2 separate regions of the Homo sapiens genome follow, and region 2 is linked to region 1. The links are contacts of gene promoters, found by promoter capture Hi-C in human tissues and cell types (Jung and others, 2019). All regions are on one chromosome and are shown on one strand. Each heading gives the region's core, a stretch centred on a gene start or on the middle of the fragment in contact. The rest is flanking DNA. Distances are from core to core; before and after follow the strand shown.

What was found. Contacts are between HindIII fragments. The study calls those that stand out against the background at their distance.
Region 2: a contact is called between a fragment that was not itself captured here and the fragment with the promoter of OR7C2 in region 1, in 1 of the 25 tissues and cell types used here (stomach).

Annotation. Positions count from the first base shown.
Region 1 is chr19:14,939,169-14,942,742 of GRCh38, forward strand. It overlaps OR7C2 (olfactory receptor family 7 subfamily C member 2), which reads left to right and starts at 2,321. Exons shown (of 1, transcript NM_012377.1): 1 at 2,321-3,280. The coding sequence starts at 2,321. The coding sequence ends at 3,280. The HindIII fragment of the contact is 18,036 bases long and covers 1-3,574 here.
Region 2 is chr19:15,002,876-15,006,436 of GRCh38, forward strand. It overlaps a transcript of SLC1A6 not described here. Among named protein-coding and RNA genes, the nearest start is that of TEKTL1, 6.1 kb to the right of the region's middle. The HindIII fragment of the contact is 9,530 bases long and covers 1-3,561 here.

The DNA.
Region 1 (3,574 bases), core at 1,071-3,570:
CAACATGGCTAGAGGATTCTAAAGCTCATCTGGGAGGATAAACTGGCACATCAGAAATAAAATTATGAAAGAAACAATACTAAGCAAATTTCTCAACTCAATGTTTAAGTATATTTTGAAGATAGACAATTAAAAATATGGAACAAAAGATTTGATACCCTGCTTGCTGTCATGGCACAGATGACCATTTAAAATTATCTATTTATAAGAGTGTGAACAAGAAAATGTCTTAATGTTTTTGTTGTTGTTGTTGTTGTTGTTTTTTGAGACAGAGTCTCGCTTTGTTGCCCAGGCTGGAGTGCAGTGGCGTGATCTCGGCTCACTGCAACCTCCGCCTCCTGGGTTCAAGCAATTCTTCTGCCTCAGCCTCCCTAGTAGCTGGGACTACAGGTGTGTGCCACCACGCCCAGCTAATTTTTGTATTTTTATTAGAGACGGAGTTTCACCATGTTGGCCAGGCTTATCTCGAACTCCTGACCTCGTGATCCGCCCACCTTGGCCTCCGAAAGTGCTGGGATTACAGGCGTGAGCCACCGCGCCCGGCCGGAAATGTCTTAATTAAAAAAAAAAACAACAACAACTGAGAAAGGCCATTTACAGATTAACCTAAGAGAAGAAAATATAAAAAATATAAAACTATAGTTAATCAAAAACTTTCTTTGTCTTTAAGAAAACTTAGAAAGTAAGTAAATGTCCAACATGGACAAGTTTTAAAGAGCCATTTCTGTATGGCAGAATATTTTGATCTGATGGAATCAGATGATGGAAAATGGGGATAAAATTTAATTCTATATCTAGAAACTCTAGGGCTTTTCTATTTCAAAGTTCCATTTTTGTTGAGTTTAGCTAGGGAGATTGATAATATAAATGAAATGTAAACAATGATGATTAAAAACAGTGGTTATTATTTTTTAGCAGAAGGGGCATCCAAGATCCAGAGGATTTAACATGTAGACATTACAACTGGGCACAGTGGCTTGCACCTGTAATCCCAGCTACTTGGGAGGCTGAGGCAGGAGGATCACTTGAGCCCAGAAGTTCGAGACTGCAGTGAGCTAGGATGGCGCCACTGCACTCCAGCCTGGGCAACAGAGCCAGACCTTGTCTCTAAAACAAAATGAAAAATAAATTACAGGAATGCAGCACAATAGAAGAAAAAGCCTTCTGAGGATTGACAATCTGCCTAGAATTAGGGAATTCTCATTGCCTGATTTCCTAATCCCCATGCCTTAGGCAGAAAGGGCAAGAGCAGCCACCAGGGATGCTGCGGTGGGAAGGATTGCTTAGGGATACAGGCAAGCGCTGAAGCAATAGTCCTCAAACTTGAGTGTGCATCAGAATTCCCTAGAGGGCTTGTTAAAACCCAGAATGCAGGCCAGGCACGGTGGCTCATGCCTGTAATACCAGCACTTTGGGAGGCTGAGGCGGGCGGATCATCTGAGGTCAGGAGTTTGAGACCAGTCTGGCCAACATGGAGAAACCGTGTCTCTCCTAAAAATACAAAAAAAAAAAAAAATTACCTCAGCGTGGTGGTGCGCGCCTGTAGTGCCAGCTACTCAGGAGGCTGAGGCATGAGAATTGCTTGAACCTGGGAGCCAGAGGTTGCAGTGAGCTGAGATTGCACCACTGCACTCCAGCCTGGGCAACAGGGTGAGACTCTGTCTCAAAAAAAAAAAATTAATTAATTAAAATTAAAAGGCCAGGCGTGGTGGCTCATGCCTGTAATCCCAGCACTTTGGGAGGCCAACGCAGGAGGATCACGAGGTCAGGAGTTCGAGACCAGCCTGACCAACATGGTGAAACCCTGTCTCTACTAAAACTACAAAAATTAGCTGGGCGTGGTGGTACATGCCTGTAATACCAGCTACTCTGGAGGCTGAGGCAGGAGAATCACTTGAACCCGGGAGGCAGAGGTTGCAGTGAGCCAAGACTCTGCCACTGCACTCTAGCCTGGGCGAAAGAGCGAGACTCCATCTCAAACAAAAACTAAACCAGAATGCTGGCTCCATACCCAGAGTATCAGATTCAGTCGGTCAGGTGGGCATGATAAGGCACATGTCTAATGAGTTCCCAGGTGATGCTGATGGGGCTGTTCCAGGAACCACAGTTTAAGGACCAATGATGTAGAGATGACTTCTCCAGGTAGCGATGGTAACTGTAACTTGTCGGCAAAGAAATCCAATAATTAGCCAAAATGCATGATTTCTTGAGTTCCCTGGGTTTGAATAAAGGATATTGCAGTCATTCTGGGGAATGCTTATTTGGAGTAAATTTTGTGTGGCTGTTTTTTTTCCTCCTTCTCGGCAAACCCAGCGGCCCCATGGAAAGAGGAAACCAAACAGAAGTTGGAAACTTTCTCCTCCTGGGATTCGCAGAGGACTCTGACATGCAGCTTCTCCTCCATGGGCTGTTCCTCTCCATGTACCTGGTTACCATCATCGGAAACCTGCTCATCATCCTGACCATCAGTTCAGACTCCCACCTCCACACCCCCATGTACTTCTTCCTCTCCAACCTGTCCTTTGCTGACATCTGTTTCACATCCACGACTGTCCCAAAGATGCTGGTGAATATCCAAACACAAAGCAAAATGATCACTTTTGCAGGCTGCCTCACTCAGATATTTTTTTTCATTGCATTTGGATGCCTGGACAATTTGCTCCTGACCATGACGGCCTATGACCGCTTCGTGGCCATCTGTTACCCCCTGCACTACACGGTCATCATGAACCCCCGGCTCTGTGGACTGCTGGTTCTGGGGTCCTGGTGCATCAGTGTCATGGGTTCCTTGCTTGAGACCTTGACCATTTTGAGGCTGTCCTTCTGCACAAATATGGAAATTCCGCACTTTTTTTGTGATCCTTCCGAAGTCCTGAAGCTGGCCTGTTCTGACACCTTCATCAATAACATCGTGATGTATTTTGTGACCATTGTCCTGGGTGTTTTTCCTCTCTGTGGAATCCTATTCTCTTATTCTCAGATTTTCTCCTCCGTCCTAAGAGTATCTGCCAGAGGCCAGCACAAAGCCTTTTCCACCTGTGGTTCCCACCTCTCAGTGGTCAGCTTGTTCTATGGCACTGGCCTTGGGGTCTATCTCAGTTCTGCAGTTACACCACCTTCTAGGACAAGTCTGGCAGCCTCGGTGATGTACACCATGGTCACCCCCATGCTGAACCCCTTCATCTACAGCCTGAGGAACAAGGACATGAAGGGGTCACTGGGGAGACTCCTCCTCAGGGCAACGTCTCTCAAAGAGGGGACCATTGCTAAGCTCTCATGAATTGCAGTGAACACAATACTGAGGCCAGACTGGCCTCTTTCAGCCAATATTTCAACTTCTGTTTTTATGCATTTTTTTGAGACGGAGTCTTGCTCTGTCGCCCAGGCTGGAGTGCAATGGCGTGATCTCGGCTCACTGCAACCTCCGCCTCCCAGGTTCAAGCAATTCTCCTGCCTCAGCCTCCTTAGCAGCTGGGATTACAGGCATGCGCCCCAATTCCCGGCCAATTGTTTTTATTTTTAGTAGAGATGGGGTGTCACCATGTTAGTCAGGCTGGTCTCGAACTCCTGACCT
Region 2 (3,561 bases), core at 517-3,016, 63 kb after region 1:
GCCTGAGCCATTATTTTTGTTTGTTTGTTTGTTTGTTTGTTTGTTTTCGGTTTGTGTTTTTCATTTTTGTCTTTTTGTTTTTTGTGGGATGTTGTTGTTGTTGTTGTTGTTATTTTGTTTTTTGTAATAGAGTCTCTGTCTCACCCAGGCTAGAGCACAGTGGCACAATCTCAGCTCACTGCAACCTCCGCCCCCCGGGTTCAAGCGATTCTCATGACTCAGCCTCTTGAGTAGCTGGGATTACAGGCATGTGCCACCACGCCCAGCTAATTTTTGCATTTTTGTACAGATGGGGTTTCACCATGTTGGCCAGGCTGGTCTCGAACTCCTGGCCTCAACTGATCTGCCTACCTCAGCCTCCCAAAGTGCTGGGATTACAGGCATAAGCCACCGTGCCTGGCCTGCCTGAGTCATTTTGAGGGACTGACCAGGGGTACAGCCATAGACACAGGTCCTTGTCACTCACTGACCAGCAAGGTCACTGCCTTTGCAGGAGATGACAGGGAAGAACCAGGAAGCACCTCCTCTCCCAGCCTGGGGCTTCCCACCATCTCCTGACACCTCCACCAGAAAAGCGACCTCATTTCTCAAAGACAAAACAGATTCTAGGTCATATCCCCCTGGAATGAGAGACCAATTGATGTGATTATCTCCAAGAGAAAGAGGGGCACCTACTAAAAGTAGAACCTGGTGTCCCAGAAGGGAAGACATCGGGGAACCTAAAAAGGGGTCTCTGATAATTACCTGCCAAGATTTCACAGCGAAGGGCATCTCCATGTAATGCCAAAAAAAAAAAAAAGAAAGAAAAGAAAAGAAAAAAGGCTAGAAGTTTTAGAAGGTGCTCCTTCTTCATCCATTCTGCAATTTCACTCGATTTCGCCCAAAAGCAGAATTCTGCTCCCTACATTGCATGAATCAGTATATAGAACAGGTGGCCCCAGCAAAGTTGCAAAAAGGAATTTCTATAAAGTGTTCTTTATTATAAAAATCAAGAGAGCTGCCAGGTGTGGTGGTTCATGCCTGTAATCCTAGCACTTTGGGAGGCCAAGCCGGGTGGATTGCCTGAGCTCAGGAGCTCGAGACCAACCTGGGCAACATGGAGAAACCCCATCTCTATTAAAATACAAAAAATTAGCTGGGCGTGGTGGTGGGCCCCTGTAGTCCCAGCTACTCAGCAGGCTGAGGCAGGAGAATTGCTTGAACCCAGGAGGAGGAGGTTGCAGTGAGCCAAGATCACACCACTGCACTCCAGCGTGAGCAACAGAGCAAGACTCTGTCTCTAAAAAAATTAATAATGCATAAATAAAATAAATAAAAATCAGAGAGCTAATTTCACAAAGAAATATAACTCCCTATTGGCCTGAGTTAGAAGTATTTGGGCTTCAGTATATTGGGAGAAGGGAAATATGTATAGTTGTGTATATGCATGCACACATACACACACACACACAGAGGCATGGTGGGGGAATGAATGTGGAAATGGTTAGAGTGAAATCAAGATCAAGTTCAGAATAAGTATCTCTGGATAGTAAAACAAAAAATAAGGCTGGCCATGGTGGCTTGTGGCCATAATCCCAGCACTTTGAGAGGGTGAGGCAGGAGGATGGCTTGAAGCCAGGAGTTCAAGACCCAGACTGGGCAACATAGCAAGACCTCACCTCTACAAAAAAAAAAAAAAGTCAATTGTGATGGCATGCACCTGTAGTTCCAGCTATTCAGGAGGCTGAAGCAAGAGATCTCTTGAGACCAGGAGTTGGAGGCTTTAGTGAGCCAAGATTGTGCCACTTCATTTCAGCCTGGGTGACAGAGTGAGACTCTGTCTCCAGAAAAAAAAAAAAGATTCTTATTCATTTCATTATGTTTCCCATATTTTATACATTTTATACAAGGTGCATACCTTGCTTTCATAGCTTATTTGTTAGTTTAAGAGAGGTATTTAGGCTTGGAGAGTACTGAAAAATTTTCCTAGTCCTCGGTCTTGTGTACATAATGTTTCTGTAGATTTTTTGAACATCACTGTTTCTGTTCAGACACACGCAGGTGAATCACTTGGAAAATGAGAGCTAATCCCAGCCCAGCAATGAATGGTTCCTTCCAGACAGGCCAGGCACAGTTGCTCACATCTGAAACCCCAGAGCTTTGGTAGGCCAAGGCGGGAGGATTGTTTGAGTCCAGGAGTTTGAGACTAGCCTGGGCAACATAGCAAGATCGTGTCTCTACAAAAACATTTTTAAATTAGCCAGGCATGGTAGCACATGCCCATAGGGCCAGCTACCCAGGAGGCTGAGGCAGGAGGATTGTTTAAGCCCAGGAGTTCAAAGTTGCAGTGAGCCATGATGGTACCACTGTACTCTACTCTGGGTGACAAAGCAAGACCCTGTCTCAAAAAAAAAAAAAAAAAAGCAGGGCACGGTGGCGGTCAGGAGTTCACGAATAGCCTGGCCAACAATGGTGAACAAATTGTTCTACTAAAAATACAAAAAATTAGCTGGGCGTGGTGGTGGGCATCTGTAATCCCAGCTACTCAGAAGGCTGAGGCAGGAGAATCACTTGAACCTGGGAGGCGTAGGTTGCAGTGAACCGAGATCGCGCCACTGCACTCCAGCCTGGGCAACAAGAGTGAAACTCCTTCTCACAAAAACAAAAAAACAAAAAAACCAGATAACTCACCTGTTCTTCAAATACATATCAGGCTAGAGAAGTGTCCAAAATGGGTCATCAAAGCCAGGAGCTAGCAGTGAGTTTTTGGAAGTTGATATAGAGAATGGAAACTGGGATTGGGAGATGGAAATGAGAAGTTGGTCTGATTAAGCAATGGTCTGCACCAATTTCAATGCTTAGATAATAGTATCATATACTAGCAGCGTGTTGGTGTCAGCGTGTTAAACTAATAAAAAGCCAGAATGTAACAGCCTGCATAGCCCTAATGCATTTCACCAGAGAGCCATGTGGAAGCCAAAATCCTCACATGCAGATCTGGCATGAGGAAGCTTCCTAAGCGTCTCTCAGGTAGCTTGGTACAAGTTCTGCCCAACAGAGGTGCTTCATACACCAGGCAGCAAGCCTACCCAAATGAGATCCCCTGGTTGGGAAGGTGGACGTACTTCATGAACAAAGCAAAGGTAGATGGTTGTGTGCAGGTCATCTCACATGAGGTGTCTCCCTGGTTCTTTGTGAAACCCTCTCTGGACCTCTTCTGGTTTTGAAATAGCTCATTCATGGATTCATTCTATTAATAAAAGTCAAAAGTAAACACTTACATAATGCTTACTAGGTGTCAGCCATGGTGCTAAGCACTTCATTCATATTAACTCATTGTCTCCATGCCACAATCCTATTACCTGAGTTGACAGATGGGGCAACGCAGGCACAGAGATGTTAAGTGAATTGCTCGAGATCACGTAGACAGCAAGTGGCAGAATCATAATTTGAATCCTAGTTCATCTGGATCCAGAATACAGACCATAATATCCTCCTGATGCTCATGAAAATTTGTTGAACCAGATACCACTGGTCCCAGCAGCAAATGACTGTGCTAACCCCATATTCCCAAGCCTCCAT